2 separate regions of the Homo sapiens genome follow, and region 1 is linked to region 2. Evidence: promoter capture Hi-C in human tissues and cell types (Jung and others, 2019). All regions are on one chromosome and are shown on one strand. Each heading gives the region's core, a stretch centred on a gene start or on the middle of the fragment in contact. The rest is flanking DNA. Distances are from core to core; before and after follow the strand shown. Region 1 overlaps SLC22A25 (solute carrier family 22 member 25). Region 2 holds the start of CHRM1 (cholinergic receptor muscarinic 1).

Region 1 (7,231 bases), core at 821-3,320, 250 kb before region 2:
GTCCATGTGTTCCCATTGTTCAGTTCCCACTTATGAGTGAAAACCTGTGTTGTTTGCTTTACTGATCCTGTGTTAGTTTGCTGAGAATGATGGTTTCCAGCTTCATCCATGTCCCTGTTAGGGACAGGAACTCATCTTTTTTTATGGCTGCATAGTATTCCATGCTGTATATGTGCCACATTTTCTTTATCCAGTCTATCATTGATGGGCATTTGGGTTGGTTCCAAGTCTATGCTATTGTGAATAGTGCTGCAGTAAACATACATGTGCATGTGTCCTTATAGTAGAATGATTTCTAATCCTTTGAATAATATACCCAGTAATTGGATTGCTGGGTCCAATGGTATTTCTTTTTCTAAATCCATGATGAATCAACACACTGTCTTCCACATGGTTGAACTAATTTACACTCCCACCAACAGTGTAAAATTGTTTCTATTTCTCCACATCCTCTTCAGCATCTGTTGTTTCCTAACTTTTTAAGGATCACATTAGGCTATCCACCAGGTTAAAAAAAAAAAAAAAAAAAGGTATCCTGTGAAAGGCACTGAAAACACCCACACCTAGCTCCTCTTCAAACTGGCATGAGATGGTATCTCGATGTGGTTTCGATTTGCATTTGTCTGATGACCAGTGATGATGAGCTTTTTTTCATATGTTTGTTGGCCACATAAATGTCTTATTTTGAGAAGTGTCTGTTCACATCATTTGCCCACTTTTTGATGGGATTTTTTTCTTGTAAATTTGATTAGTTCCTTGTAGATTCCAGATATTAGAACTTTGTCAGATGTATAGATGGCAAAAATTTATCCCATTCTGTAGGTTGCCTGTTCACTCTGATGATAGTTTCTTTTGCTGTGCAGAAGCTCTTTAGTTTAATTAGATCCCAGTTGTCAATTTTGGCTTTTGTTGCAATTGCTTTTGGTGTTTTAGTCCTGAAGTCTTTGCCTGTGCCTATGTCCCAAATGGTATTGCCTAAGTTGTCTTCTAGGGGTTTTATGGTTTTAGGTATTATATTTAAGTCTTTTATCCATCTTGAGTTAATTTTTGTATAAGGTGTAAGGAAGGGGTCCAGTTTCAGTTTTCTGCATATGGCTAGCCAGTTTTCCCAGCACCATTTATTAAATAGGATATCCTTTCCCCATTGCTCATTTGTGTCAGGTTTGTCAAAGACGAGATGGTAGTAGATGTGTGGTGTTATTTCTGTTCGCTCCATTGGTCTATGTATCTGATTTGGTGCCAGTACCATGCAGTTTTGATTACTTTAGCCTTGTAGTATATTTGAAGTCAGGCAGTATGATGCCTCCAGCTTTGTTCTTTTTGCTTAGCATTGTCTTGGCTATACAAGCTTTTTTAAAATCCATGTGAAATTTAAAGTAGTTTTTTCTAGTTCTGCAAAAAAAGTCAATGTTAGCTTGAGGAATAGCATTGAATCTATAAATTGCTTTGGGCAATATGGCCATTTTCATGATATTGATTCTTTCTATCCATGAGCATGGAATGTTTTTCCATTTGTTTGTGTCCTCTCTTATTTCCTTGTGCAGTGGTTTGTAGTTCTCCTTGAAGAGCTCCTTCACGTCCCTTGTAAGTTGTATTCTTAGGTATTTTATTTTCTTTGTAGCAATTGTGAATGGGAGTTCATTCATGATTTGGCTCTCTGTTTGTCTATTGTTGATGAATAGGAATGCTTGTGATTTTTGCACATTGATTTTGTATTCTGAGACTTTGCTGAAGTTGCTTATCAGCTTAAGGAGTTTTGGGGCTGAGATGATGGGGTTTTCTAAATATACAATCATGTCATCTGCAGAGACAATTTGACTTCTTCTCTTCCTATTTGAATACCCTTCATTTCCTTCTCTTGCCTGGTTACCGTGGCCAGAACTTCCAATACTATGTTGAATAGGAGTGGTGAGAGAGGGCATTCTTGTCTTGTGCCAGTTTTCAAAGGGAACGCTTCCAGCTTTTGCCCATTCTGTATGATATTGGCTATGGGTTTGTCATAAATAGCTCTTATTATTTTGAGATATGTTCCATCTATACCTAGTTTATTGAGTAGTTTACCATGAAGGGTGTTGAATTTGATTGAAGGTCTTTTCTGCATCTATTGAGATAATCGTGTGGCTATTGTCATTGATTCTGTTTACGTGATGGATTATATTTATTGATTTTTCTATGTTGGACCAGCCTTGCATCCCAGGGATAAAGCCTACTTAATCGTGGTGGATAAGCTTTTGATGTGCTGCTGGATTCAGTTTGCCAGTATTGTGCTGAGGATTTTTGCATTGATGTTCATCAGGGATATTGGCCTGAAATTTTCTTTTCTGGTTGTGTCTCTGCCAGGTTTTGGTATCAGGATAATGCTGGCCTCATAAAATATGTTAGGGAGGAGTCCCTCTTTTTCTATTATTTGAAGAATTTTCAGAAGGAATTGTTCCAACTCCTCTTTGCACCTCTGGGAGAATTCAGGTGTGAATCCATCTGGTCCTGGGCTTTTTGAGTTGGTAGGCTATTATTTACTGCCTCAATTTCAGAACTTGTTATTGGTCTATTCAGGGATTCAACTTCTTCCTGGTTTAGTCTTGGGAGGGTGTATATGTCCAGGAATTTATCCATTTCTTCTGGATTTTTAGTTTATTTGTGTGAGGTGTTTATAGTATTCTCTGACGGTAGTTTGTATTTCTGTGGGGTTAGCGGTGATATCCCCTATATCATTTTTTATTGTGTCTATTTTATTCTTCTCTCTTTTCTTCTTTATTAGTCTTGCTAGCAGTCTATTTATTTTGTTGATCTTTTCAGTAAACTGGTTCCTGGATTCATTGATTTTTATGAGTGGTTTTGTGTCTCTGTCTCCTTCTGTTCTGCTCTCATCTTAGTTATTTCTTGTCTTTGCCTAGCTTTTCTTCAATTTGTTCACTCTTACTTCTCTAGTTATTTTAATTGTGATGTTAGGGTATCGATTTTAGATCTTTCTCGCTTTCTGATGTGGGCACTTAGTGCTGTAAAATCCCTCTTAATACTGCTTTTGCTGTGTCCCAGAGATTCTCATACATTTTGTCTTTGTTCTCATTCGTTTCAAATAACTTCTTTATTTCTGTCTTTACTTCATTATTTACCCAGTAGTCATTCAGGAGCAGGTTGTTCAGTTTCCACGTAGTTGAGTGGTTTTGAATGAGTTTCTTAATCCTGAGTTCTAATTTGATTGCACTGTGGTCTGAGAGACTTGTTTGTTATGATTTCTGTTCTTTTGCACTTGCTGAGGAGTGTTTTACTTCCAATTATGTGATCAATTTTAGAATAAGTGCGATGTGGTGCTGAGAAGAATGTATATTCTGTTGATTTGGGGTAGAGAGTTCTGTAGATGTCTATTAGAGATCCACTTGGTCCAGAGTTGAGTTCAAGTCCTGAATATCCTTGTTGATTTTCTGTCTAGTTGATCTAATATTGACAGTGGGATGTTAAAGTCTCCTACTATTATTGCGTAGGAATCTAAGCCTCTTTGTAGGTCTCTAATAACTTGCTTTATGAATCTGGGTGCTCCTGTGTTGTGTGTGTATATATTTAGGATAGTTAGCTCTTCTTGTTGCATTGATTCCTTTATCATTATGTAATGCCCTTCTTTGTCTTCTTTGATTTCTGTTGGCTTAAACTCTGTTTTATCAGAGAATAGGATTGCAATCCCTGCTTTTTTTTCTTTCTCTTTGCTTGGTAAATATTTCTTTATCCCTTTATTTTGAACCTATGTGTGTCTTTGCACATGAGATAGGTCTCCTGAATACAGCACACCAGTGGGTCTTGACTCTATGCAATTTGCCAGTCTGTGTCTTTTAATTGGGGCATTTAGCCCATTTACATTTAAGGTTAACATTGTTATGTTTAATTTGATCCTGTCATCATGATGTTAGCTGCTTAGTTTGCACATTAGTTGATGCAGTTTCTACATAGCATCATTGGTCTTTATATTTTGGTATGTTTTTGCAGTGGTTGGTACCAGTATTTCCTTCCCATATTTAGTGCTTCCTTCAGGAGCTCTTGTAAGGCAGGCCTGCTGGTGACAAAATCCCTCAGCATTTACTTGTCTGGAAAGAATTTTATTTCTCCTTTGCTTATGAAGCTTAGTTTGGCTGTATATGAAATTCTGGGTTGAAAATTCTTTTATTTTAAGAATGTTGAATATTGGCATTCACTCTCTTCTGGATTGTAGGGTTTTTGCAGAGAGATCCACTGTTAGTCTGATGGACTTTCCTTTGTAGGTAACCTGACCTTCCTCTGTGGCTGCCCTTAACATTTTTTTCCTTCATTTCAATCTTGAAGACTCTGACAATCATGTGTCTTGGTGTTGCTCTTCTCAAGGAGTATCTAAGTGGTGTTCTCTGTATATCCTGAAATTGTATGTTGGCCTGTCTTGCTAGGTTGGGGAAGTTCTCCTGTATAATGTCCTGACATGTGATTTCCAACTTGCTTTTATTCTCCCTGTCACTTTCAGGTACACCAATCCATCATAGATTTGGTCTTTTCACAGAGTCCCATATTTCTTGGAGGCTTGGTTTGTTCCTTTTATTCTTTTTTCTCTAGTCTTTCCTTCACACTTTATTTCATTTAATTGACCTTCAATCTCTCATATCCTTTTTTCCACTTGATTGATTCAGCTATTGATACTTGTGTATGCTTCACAAAGTTCTCGTGCTGTGTTTTTCAGCTCCATCAGGTCATTTATGTTCTTCTCTAAACTGGTTAACTAGTTAGCAGTTCCTGCAACCTTCTATTAAGGTTCTTAACTTCCTTGCATTGGGTTAGAACATGCTTCTTTAGCTCAGGGGAGTTTGTTATTACCCACCTTCTAAAGCCTACTTCTGTCAATTTGTCAAACTCATTCTCCATCCAGTTTAATGCCCTCCCTGGAGAGAAATGTCATCATTTGGAGGAGAAGACGCATTCGGTTTTTTGGAATTTTCAGCATTTTTGCACTGGTTTTTCCTCATCTTTATGGATTTATCTACCTTTGATCTTTGATGCTGATGGCCTTTGGATGGGGTTTTTGTGGGGGCATCCTTTTTGTTGATGTTGATGTTACTTCTCTCTGTTTGTAAGTTTTCTTTCTAACAGTCAGGTCCCTCTTCTGCAGGTCTGCTGGAGTTTGCTGGAGGTCCACTCCAGATCCTGTTTGCTTGGGTATCACCAGCGGAGGTTGCAGAACAGCAAAGATTCCTGCCTGCTCCTTCCTCTGGAAGCTTCATTTTAGAGGAGCACCTGCCTGATGCCAGCCAGAGCTCTCCTGTATGAAGTGTCTGTTGACCCCTGCTGGGAAGTGTCTCCCAGTCAGGAGGCACAGGTGTTAGTGACCCACTTAAGGAGGCAGTCTATCCCTTAGCAGAGCTCAAGCACTGTGCTGAGAGATCCACTGCTCTCTTCAGAGCTGGCAAGCAAGAATGTTTAAGTCCACTGAAGCTGCACCCACAGCCACCCCTTCCCCAAAGTGCTCTGTCCCAGGTGATGGGAGTTTTATCTATAAGCCCTTGACTGGGGCTGCTGCCTTTCTCTCAGAGATGCCCTGCCCAGTGAGGAGGAATCTAGAGAGGCAGTCTGGCCACAGTTGCTTTGCAGCACTGCAGTAAGTTCCACACAGTTTGAACTTCCCAATGGCTTCCTTAACACTGTGAGGGGAAAACTGCCTACACAAGCCTCAGTAATGGTGGACATTCCTCTCCCACCAAGGTTGATCATCCCAGTTCGACCTCAGACTGATGTGCTGGCAGTGAGAATTTCAAGCCAGTGGTTCTTAGCTTGCTGGGCTCCATGGGAGTGGGACCTGCTGAGCGAGACCACTTGGCTTTCTGGCATCAGCCCCTTCTCCAGGAGAGTGAATGGTTCTGTCTCACTGAGGTTCCAGGTCCCACTGGGGGAAAAAAAAAAAACTCCTGCAGCTAGCTCAGTGTCTCCCCAAACAGCCACCTAGTTTTGCACTTGAAACCCAGGGCCCTGGTAGCATTGGCACACAAGGGAATCTCCTGGTCTGCGTGTTGCAAAAACTATGGGAAAAGCATAATTTCTGGGCTGGATAGCACAGTCCCTATGGCTTCCTTGGGTAGGTGAGGAAGTTCCCTGGCCCTTTGGACTTCCTGGGTGAGGTGATGCCCCACCCTGCTTCAGCTTACCCTCCGTGGGCTGCACCCACCCGCTGTCTAACCAGTCCCAGTGAGATGAACCGGGTACCTCAGTTGGAAATGCAGAAATCACTCACCTTCCGCATTGCTCTCGCTGGGAGCTGCAGACCAGAGCTCTTCCTATTCGGCCATCTTGCCAGCTGTCTCTATCGACTACCTCTTATTCCAAAAAATAAAACCATAATGAAGTTAGACACCATTAAATATACATAATATAAAAATAGGTTTTCTTATTCTAATCTAGATTTGCTACACAAGACCATCTACAGAATGAATGCCATGAATATACAATCTGTACCCAATAAGTTGTACATTTTAGTAAACATTCCTGATTGTAAGGGTGGCAAATGGAAATTTTGGCTTCTTAGATCTTTACTGTGAGTTTGACTGACATCAGTACATTTTTATTTTTAATTGTATATTTTCATTACTGTGAATTTTTTTGCAGTGATTTTTGATGCCATGTGGCTACATTGGTTTTAGAATACTAATAAAATCCATTGCTTTTAAAATAAATAAATAAACCCCATAGCACATCCTCCATACAACATCTGTTGTCCCTCAAGATACAATTGTTACCACTATCATCTAACCATTATTTTATGATAACTTTAAAATATCAACTTGCAAGAAAATATTCCACAAAACACACTCTGCCTTTTTACTTTAAAGAGTCCTTGGCTACCTGGGCCAATATTATTCTCATTTGTAGGATTTAGGTTCCACAGATTATAATATGTGCCTTTTTCTGTGTTCCCTGCAGATTTGCAAGTACCATCCCTTTTTGGGGCCTTACTTTGCACCTCCAGCATCTGGGAAACAATGTTTTCCTGTTGCAGACTCTCTTTGGTGCAGTCACCCTCCTGGCCAATTGTGTTGCACCTTGGGCACTGAATCACATGAGCCGTCGACTAAGCCAGATGCTTCTCATGTTCCTACTGGCAACCTGCCTTCTGGCCATCATATTTGTGCCTCAAGGTGAGAAAAGTTCACAGGTGGAAGAAAGAAAATGTCTTTCCCTCTTTTCTCAGGGATTGCCCTGGTCACACCTATCTGAAGCCAGAAGGAAA
Region 2 (6,981 bases), core at 2,086-4,585:
ATATATATATATATATATATATATATATAGAGAGAGAGAGAGAGAGAGAGAGAGAGAGAGAGAGAGAGCACTTAGCAGTTCCTGACACATAGTAAGTGCTCAATAAGTGTTATAAAAAAGAACTGCCGGACGCGGTGGCTCAGTAATCCCAGCACTTTAGAAAGCTGAGGGGGGCGGAGGCGGGCGGATCACTTCAGCTCAGGAGTTCAAGACCAGCCTGGCCAACATGGTGAAACCCTGTCAATAAAAAATTTAAAAAAAAAAAAAAAAAAAAAAAAAGCCAGTGGGGTGGCGCGCGCCTGTAGTCCCAGCTACTCAGAGTGGGTGAGGGGGTAGGGCTGCGGTGGGAGGATCGCTTGAGCCCGGCAGGCAATTGCAGTGAGCTCTGATCGCGCCACTGCACTCCAGCTTGGCCAAGAGACCGAAACCCTGTATTAAAAAAAAAAAAAAAAACCGCAGTGATGGCTTTCACTTTTTGCAGACGCACGTGCCACGTTTTACCTGCAGAAGCTCAACTAACCCGTCAAACAGCCTGGTCGGGGAGGTATTTCTACCCTTCTTGTCACTGATGAAGAAACTGAGACCTAGAGAGGGGGCCTAGCTTGCTCAGGCCGCTTCAACTAGAAAAAGGCCAAGCTGAATTCGCATTCAGGGCACTCTCCTCTTGCACAGTAAGGGGGCCGAGACTGGGGCCGAGCCGCGCAAGGGCGACTCCACGTTCCCTTGGTGGCCTGGAGGACTGAATTCTCGACCAGGCGACCAAAAATAACAACCAGCAGGAGCCGAGACCCGAGAGTCAGACCCCACCCAACCCAGCCAGAAATGAGGGAGAACTGGAGGGGGTCGCGCGGGGGCGGGGCCAAAGCCCCACGTGCGCCGCCTGCAGCCGCTTCAAGAAGCCCTTTGTCGCGAGCAGCCGCGTTCGTGCCGCACTCGGAGGCTTAAAATAAAGACAATGTTCCCAGCCTCCCTGCGGCTAAATCGGGCGCGAGTGCGGGGGTGGTGAGCGAGCCGGGCGGGAGCGCTTCTCCAGGCCGTACCTCTCTTCTCCCCTCCTGCCTCAGTTTCCCCATCTGATAAGGGTGAGCTAGCCAAGTCTGGGCGGGGACGTCAGAAGAGTGATACAGTGGTGGGGGTGGCGGGGGGCGTCATCCCCCTGCGTCCGCGACTGCACAGACTTCAGAAGAAAGCCGCGTGGGACAGAGGGGGGCACTCAGGAGGAGGCAGGGGAAAGCTGGACACCCTCCCCACCCGCCCACAAAATAAGTGTTTTTATTTCTAAAGGGACGTGTGCAGAGGCGGTGGGAGAAGAGAAAAGGGAGACCAAGGAGACTGGGGGGAGGTGGCAAAGAGGGAGCCTGATTCAGATTCGGAAATGGATGTTGAGCGTGGAGGCCTAACACCCCCACACTCAGCCACGTGTACGCGCACAAGTACACGCAGCCCCACCGCGCCGCCCAAGCCGCAGCCGCAAACCCAGGGCAGCCCAGCAGGGGGCATCCCGAGTCCGCGCCCAAGGGTAGGGACTGGTCAAGTTCTGACCCAACCCTGACCGGCTGGGTGACCCTGGGATGGAAAGGGGATGCTCACTTAGATTTCTCTCCAAGCTGCAGCGTCTGCTTGACTTCAGCAGGGAGGAGGACTGGGTGCCTGCTGGAACCCCAGCTGGCTTTGAGAAGCACAGATGCCCCCACATGTACCTGCCACGTGTGCCCACCAGTAGCTGCTGACCAAACCCCAGGAACTCCAGTTTCAGCTCCACTTGGCTCCATTGGCCAACTGGGCTCCTGGGTGAGAAAGCCCCAGGTTACCCTCAGGCACCAGCATTGGCGGGGTTGTGGGGGCGGGGGGCGGCGCTTGGTGGGGAAATGAGTAGGGGAAACCCCTGCCCCAGACTCCAGAGCCCTGGGCTTAGAGCCAAGTGACCTGAGCCCAAACACCTGCCCACCACATGCTAATCATACCTCTGCTCTTCAGATTTCTCACCTACAAAATGGGGATAATTGATGCTCCCATTCCTTCCCACCTCTCACCCCAAGACTTCGACACAGCCCAGTGGGCAAAGAACACAGCAGCCCCAGAAGGCAGTCCCTGCAGCCTCCAACTCTCCTCCCCAGTCAGCTCCCGGGGAGGTCTCTAGGGCCAAACAGAGGCGGTGCAGGACCCACATCTCTAGGGCAAACGGCCCCCCAGGGGTTCTATCTCTGAGGAAGCTCAACACAGAAGTCCAGACCAGCCTGGCAGGGAGGGATGCTGGCCTCACCCAGTAGGGCTGAGGGAGATTGGGAGGAGGGCTCATCTCCTCCCAGGTACACACCTGTGAGCCCTGAGTGGGAGTCAGGGGAGACAGAGCTTGACAAGCTGGGAGGAGAGCTGTCTGTCTGCCTGTCTGTCTTCCAAGTGGAAGCTTGGGGTGGAGCAGGCAGGTAGAGGCTGCCTCACTTGTCAGAATTAGCAAGTTCCACAGTTGGGCAACACTCAGCCACACATCAGATACAGACACACGTGTGCACACGCGTCCTGCCTCCAGACTGATAGGGTCACACCTGCACTTACACAGGCTGCATGGTGACATGAGTACACAGGGACACACATATGCAAGGCACTCAGCCGCACATGGGGCAGGCACCTGGCCCTCTACTCATCCCCGAAAAGCAGACACCCATATACCCTCACAACAGGCTATGCATAGCCCAATGCTAGCGCACACAGCCCAGCATGCGGGCACGTTCACTCAGCCCCCGGGCGGGTGCGCCAGCCCTCTGGGTCTGTTCCAAGTTGGAGCCTCTCACGTGAGGCCCAATGTGTCATTTCCAAACAGAAGGAATCTAGCTCTCTCACAGCAGGGAGGAAGAGCAGGGTGTGTAGTTGGGTGGGTGGGTGCGTGGGCATGTGCAGGGGGGAGGGCGTGTGTGCGAGGGAAGCAGGCATGTGAATACCAGGGCATGTGTGTTGGGGCATGGTGCACAGGGGCTGGGGGCTCTAAGGTTGGGTGGGGGGAGGAGCCCAAGGAAACAGTGTGCCTTTGTGAGGGTGTGTGTGCCGCCGGGTCTGTGCAGTGGGTGTGGGTGTTTGTCTCCCTGTATCCGCCTTCTCTCCCGTCCGGGACTTTTAGCCTTCCTGGGCTCGCCTTCCTCATGTCCTTTCTCCTCCCTCTTGGGGCTCAAATTGGGTGCCCTGGTGAAGGAGGGGGGCACACTCCAGAACCTAGTCCAACCCCAGACGCTGCCTGAGGCTTCCCTCCAGCTCCCCTCCCTTCCTTTTCTCCCTTTCCTCCCTCCCTCTCTTTCCCTTTCTCCCTCCCCGCTAAGGCTGGCGTGCCAGGGGGTGGGACATGCCAATCACTGGCTGTGCCTCTCCCGCTGCCAGCACAGGGCGCAGCTCCCCCTGGGAGCCAGGTGTTTGGGTCCCTGGAGACGCCGCAGGCCCCCAGGGAGGCAGTGGGGCTGAGGACCCTACAGACCCCTCTTCAGCCCCGTGGTGAGTACATTTGGGAGGGCTTGGGAGGGGCTGCACTAAGGTAGAGGGTAGGAGGGTCCTGGGGAGCGGGGGAGGGCAGGGATCAGGATGAGATGGAAATAGGGATGGACTCACAGAGATAGGAGGAGGCCAGGGAGGGGTCTAGAGGGCAAGGGGGCTCTGTAGCATTGAACACTGACTGCTCCAAACACTCGGCCTCCTGGCTTTGAGTGGATATAGCTGATGTTTTTCTGGGCTTCTGCTGGCAGAGGAGATGGAGATCCCCCTCAGGAAACTGGACCTGAGGCCCAGAAGGGATTAGGCTGCCTGGTAGCAAGCAGAACCCCCAACACCCTAGGGGCAGAGTGGGAAGGGCAAAGGGCCAGGAAGCAGCCCTTGCCACCAGCATCCTGTGGGAGGTTGACCCCCATCTTGATGGGGGTGCCAGTCCCAGAACCTCCTGTCCTCCCTCAGGGCACCCTGAAACCCACCACCCCCGTCCACCTCAGCTCCCCCAAGATGGACTGAATCAGGCTGCTGGCCAGATAGAGAAGCTAGAAGCCAAGGTGGGTGTCAGGCCAGAAGCCAGCAGGAGACCAGGCAAAGAGCCCCAGGGCTCTTTGGGGACAAATGGGCATGTGGGTGGCCACACTAGCCAGGGAAGGTGGCCCTGACGTGCGCAGGGGCCCAGAGGACCCTCCTTATGTTTCTAGTATCTTGGGCTCCCGCAGGGTGGGTCTCAGTCCTATATCCAGGCAATGCATGGATACCAATGGGCACCCACGCCAGGTACTCACCCCAGTGCCCGCAGACTGCACAACATGGGGATGGGCTAGGGGCCAGGAACTCTGATGCTTGTAGAGTTGTCAGCTCCTGGGCAGGCCAGCTGGGGAGGGGGTCGTCAGCTCTCATTAGGTCATCCAGACATGTGCAGCTTAGAGGTTATCAGAGCCAATGGAGAGGGGTTCACATCTTTGCACAAAACACACCTGCAGCTCCACCCAGACTGACCCAAGACCCCTGCCCAACTGGCTGGAAGGAGTCAGGCAGTCTCCAGTAGCCAGACAGTCTCCTTTCTCAGGGTAATCAGCTGTTCAGTGGGCTGTCAGATGAGAGTTCTCTGCCCTCTGACCTCAGCCACCAGGCAAGCTGCAGTCGCTATCGCGGCTGAGATATGAAAGGGAAGGAGATAGTGAAATGGGCTGCAGAAGATGTGGGTCTTGGCTCGCAGCTGACAGCTGGCGGTTGGAGTTCTGAGAACTGGATTCTGAAGTGTAATGGGGAGTCCAAAGTGTCAAGAAGGGGCTAACCAGAGGTCATGTCAGACCTAGAAAGGAGGCTTTCTATTGTATGGAGGGACTGAGGCTGAGAAAGGGAAAGGGACATGCTCATGGTCGGAGAAGGGATATGTAGGGATCCAGCTGGGGCTCGGACCCCTTCTCCGCATCCTCAGCACAACACTGCGCTGCCGCCTCCATGAGCAGGAAGATGGGGTGGGAGAGCAGGGGGCGCAGTAAGCTCTGAGACGCAGAAGCTTGGGCTCCCAGCAGGCGGGGAGAGGTGGGTGAATTGCGCTGGGTTTCTGCTCTGCTGTGGTGCCATGGTGATGCCTACAAGGATGGAGGAGGGAGGGAGAGAGAAGAAAGGAAATGAGGAGGAGAGTGCAAGGAGCCAGGAGCAGGGGGCTTGCGGAGAGGAGGATGAGGGACCCAGAACCTCTGATGCCACACTGGCAGAGTGAGGTCTAGGGTCCAGCTGCTCATGCCCAGGCTCTGTCATGGTCTGGCCAAAGTCAGGCAACTGCTTAAGATCCATCATGGGTGAGCAAATTTGGCAGTGATTCTAGGGCTGATGCTTCTCTTCCAGCTAAGCAGTGTGTTTCATGTAGCATTTAACTGATGGCTGCTGCCCTCCACAAGACTAGTTGGCCCTCCCAATGGCAACTGTTGAGCCTTAAAAATGTGATAAATTCTGTTTACTCCCTCATTCTCAAAGCCAGACATCAGGGGTGGAAGTTTTGTGCACCTTAATGGGTCAAGAGCTGCTGTCAAAGAAAAGTTAACCCCGAGGGGAGAGCTGCCTCGTATGGGCTGGCTTCTGGGGTCAGGCCCTAGCAGAAGGGATCAGTGAGTAGACCTGGCCAGAAGGAGCGCCCTCCTCATTGCATATGTGAGGCCTCAGGTGCCCAACCCCACAGCCCCCTCCACATACCTCCCACTCCCCAATGTTATCCCCTCTTCCTAACCAGGACTCTACCAGCTTCCAGGCCCAGAATCACAAGATGGCTCCGCTCCTCCCTCCTAAATATCTTCCCCAGCATCCCCTCATTCCCTCCCTCCCCTTCTGTACTCTTTGGCCAGCGGTACGTTCAGAAAAGCCTGGTGTTCAGGAATCCCTCTCCCCATTTCCCTTTCCCTGCCTCCCCCAGTGGTTCTCTCCACTCCCAGTTGCTCTCACAAGCCAGATCCCCAGCCCCTAGGGATTGGTCCTGGGCGCTGGGAGTCAACAGTCTGGCCTGCTGTAATAAAGGCTCTGACCTCATCCCTTAACCCTTTGAGCCCAGGCTAACATTCTCCTCTCCCCAGTGACAAATGCTTTGGCACGTCCATGTCTGTCCTGGCACCTCACTTAGCTTCCCTGCAGCCGGGTGAGGCAGGGTTTCCTTGGTCCACTTTACAGACAAGGATGCTCTTGGCTGTTTTTCTCCTATGCTCTCCAGCCAGGCAGGGCCTCACTCAGGGAAGCAGGGACCTGGCAGATGAGATGTGGGAGCTCAAGGGAGAAGAGGGGCCTCTGGACCATGCTCTGGACCTGGTCCTGACCCCCACAGGTTCACCCTCAGGCTCCAGGGTCTGAAGTTGAGTACACACACGTACATTTATTCCACAGGTATTTATTGAGCAACTACTATCTGCCAAGCCCTGGGATAAAGCATTGAATGAGACAGACGCAGCCCTTACCCTGCCCTTTAAAGAGCTCCAGTAGACCCACCCTCTTCCCACAGCACTGTTATCACACATCACACAGATATACGACAGACACTGCCGCGCACACAAAGGAGGCCAGATTCTGAAAGAAGGACCGATTGCTCATCGTTAACTGATTCAAAGTTGGGCTTGAGTAAGCTAGCTGAGGTGGGCAAGGAGGCTGGCAAACCCCCGCAACCCCTCAAGGGCAGGAGTAGGGTTCAAGAGGTTGGTCTCGGAGGCAGACGGCCTGGATCCAAATCCTGGTTGCATCGCTGATGAGCTGTAAGGTCCTTCAGGTCTTGAAGCCTCAGGTTAGGCCTTTTGCAAACTGGGGATAGCAGGACCTACTTCACAAGGAGTTGTAACAGGTAGATTAGATCGAGTTTATAATGTTTATGTATATAATGCTTAGAGCCATGTCTGGTATATAGTATGCAGCCAGTAAATACCAGTTACTATAATATGAGTAATTTTTCTTTGCTGCTATTATGTGTAAGGAGTATTAGTGATAGTATTAAAGCCTTCTAACAGCCTTCATCAGGAGGCCACAGTC

The links. The method cuts DNA at HindIII sites, captures the fragments that hold promoters and counts their contacts. A contact is called where the count stands out against the background at its distance.
Region 1: a contact is called between a fragment that was not itself captured here and the fragment with the promoter of CHRM1 in region 2, in 2 of the 25 tissues and cell types used here (mesendoderm cells and thymus).

What each region holds. Positions count from the first base shown.
Region 1 is chr11:63,165,952-63,173,182 of GRCh38, reverse strand. SLC22A25 (solute carrier family 22 member 25) reads left to right here. Exons shown (of 12, transcript NM_199352.6): 10 at 6,925-7,139. Among named protein-coding and RNA genes, the nearest start is that of SLC22A24, 25 kb to the right of the region's middle. The HindIII fragment of the contact is 5,201 bases long and covers 1-4,670 here.
Region 2 is chr11:62,917,717-62,924,697 of GRCh38, reverse strand. CHRM1 (cholinergic receptor muscarinic 1) reads left to right here and starts at 3,335. Exons shown (of 2, transcript NM_000738.3): 1 at 3,335-3,480. It overlaps LOC105369333 (a long non-coding RNA gene), which reads right to left and starts at 4,538. Exons shown (of 5, transcript XR_002957251.2): 1 at 4,257-4,538. It overlaps CHRM1-AS1 (CHRM1 antisense RNA 1), which reads right to left. Exons shown (of 3, transcript NR_199052.1): 3 at 6,337-6,772. RefSeq lists enhancers at 654-713, 2,477-3,011. The HindIII fragment of the contact is 6,896 bases long and covers 124-6,981 here.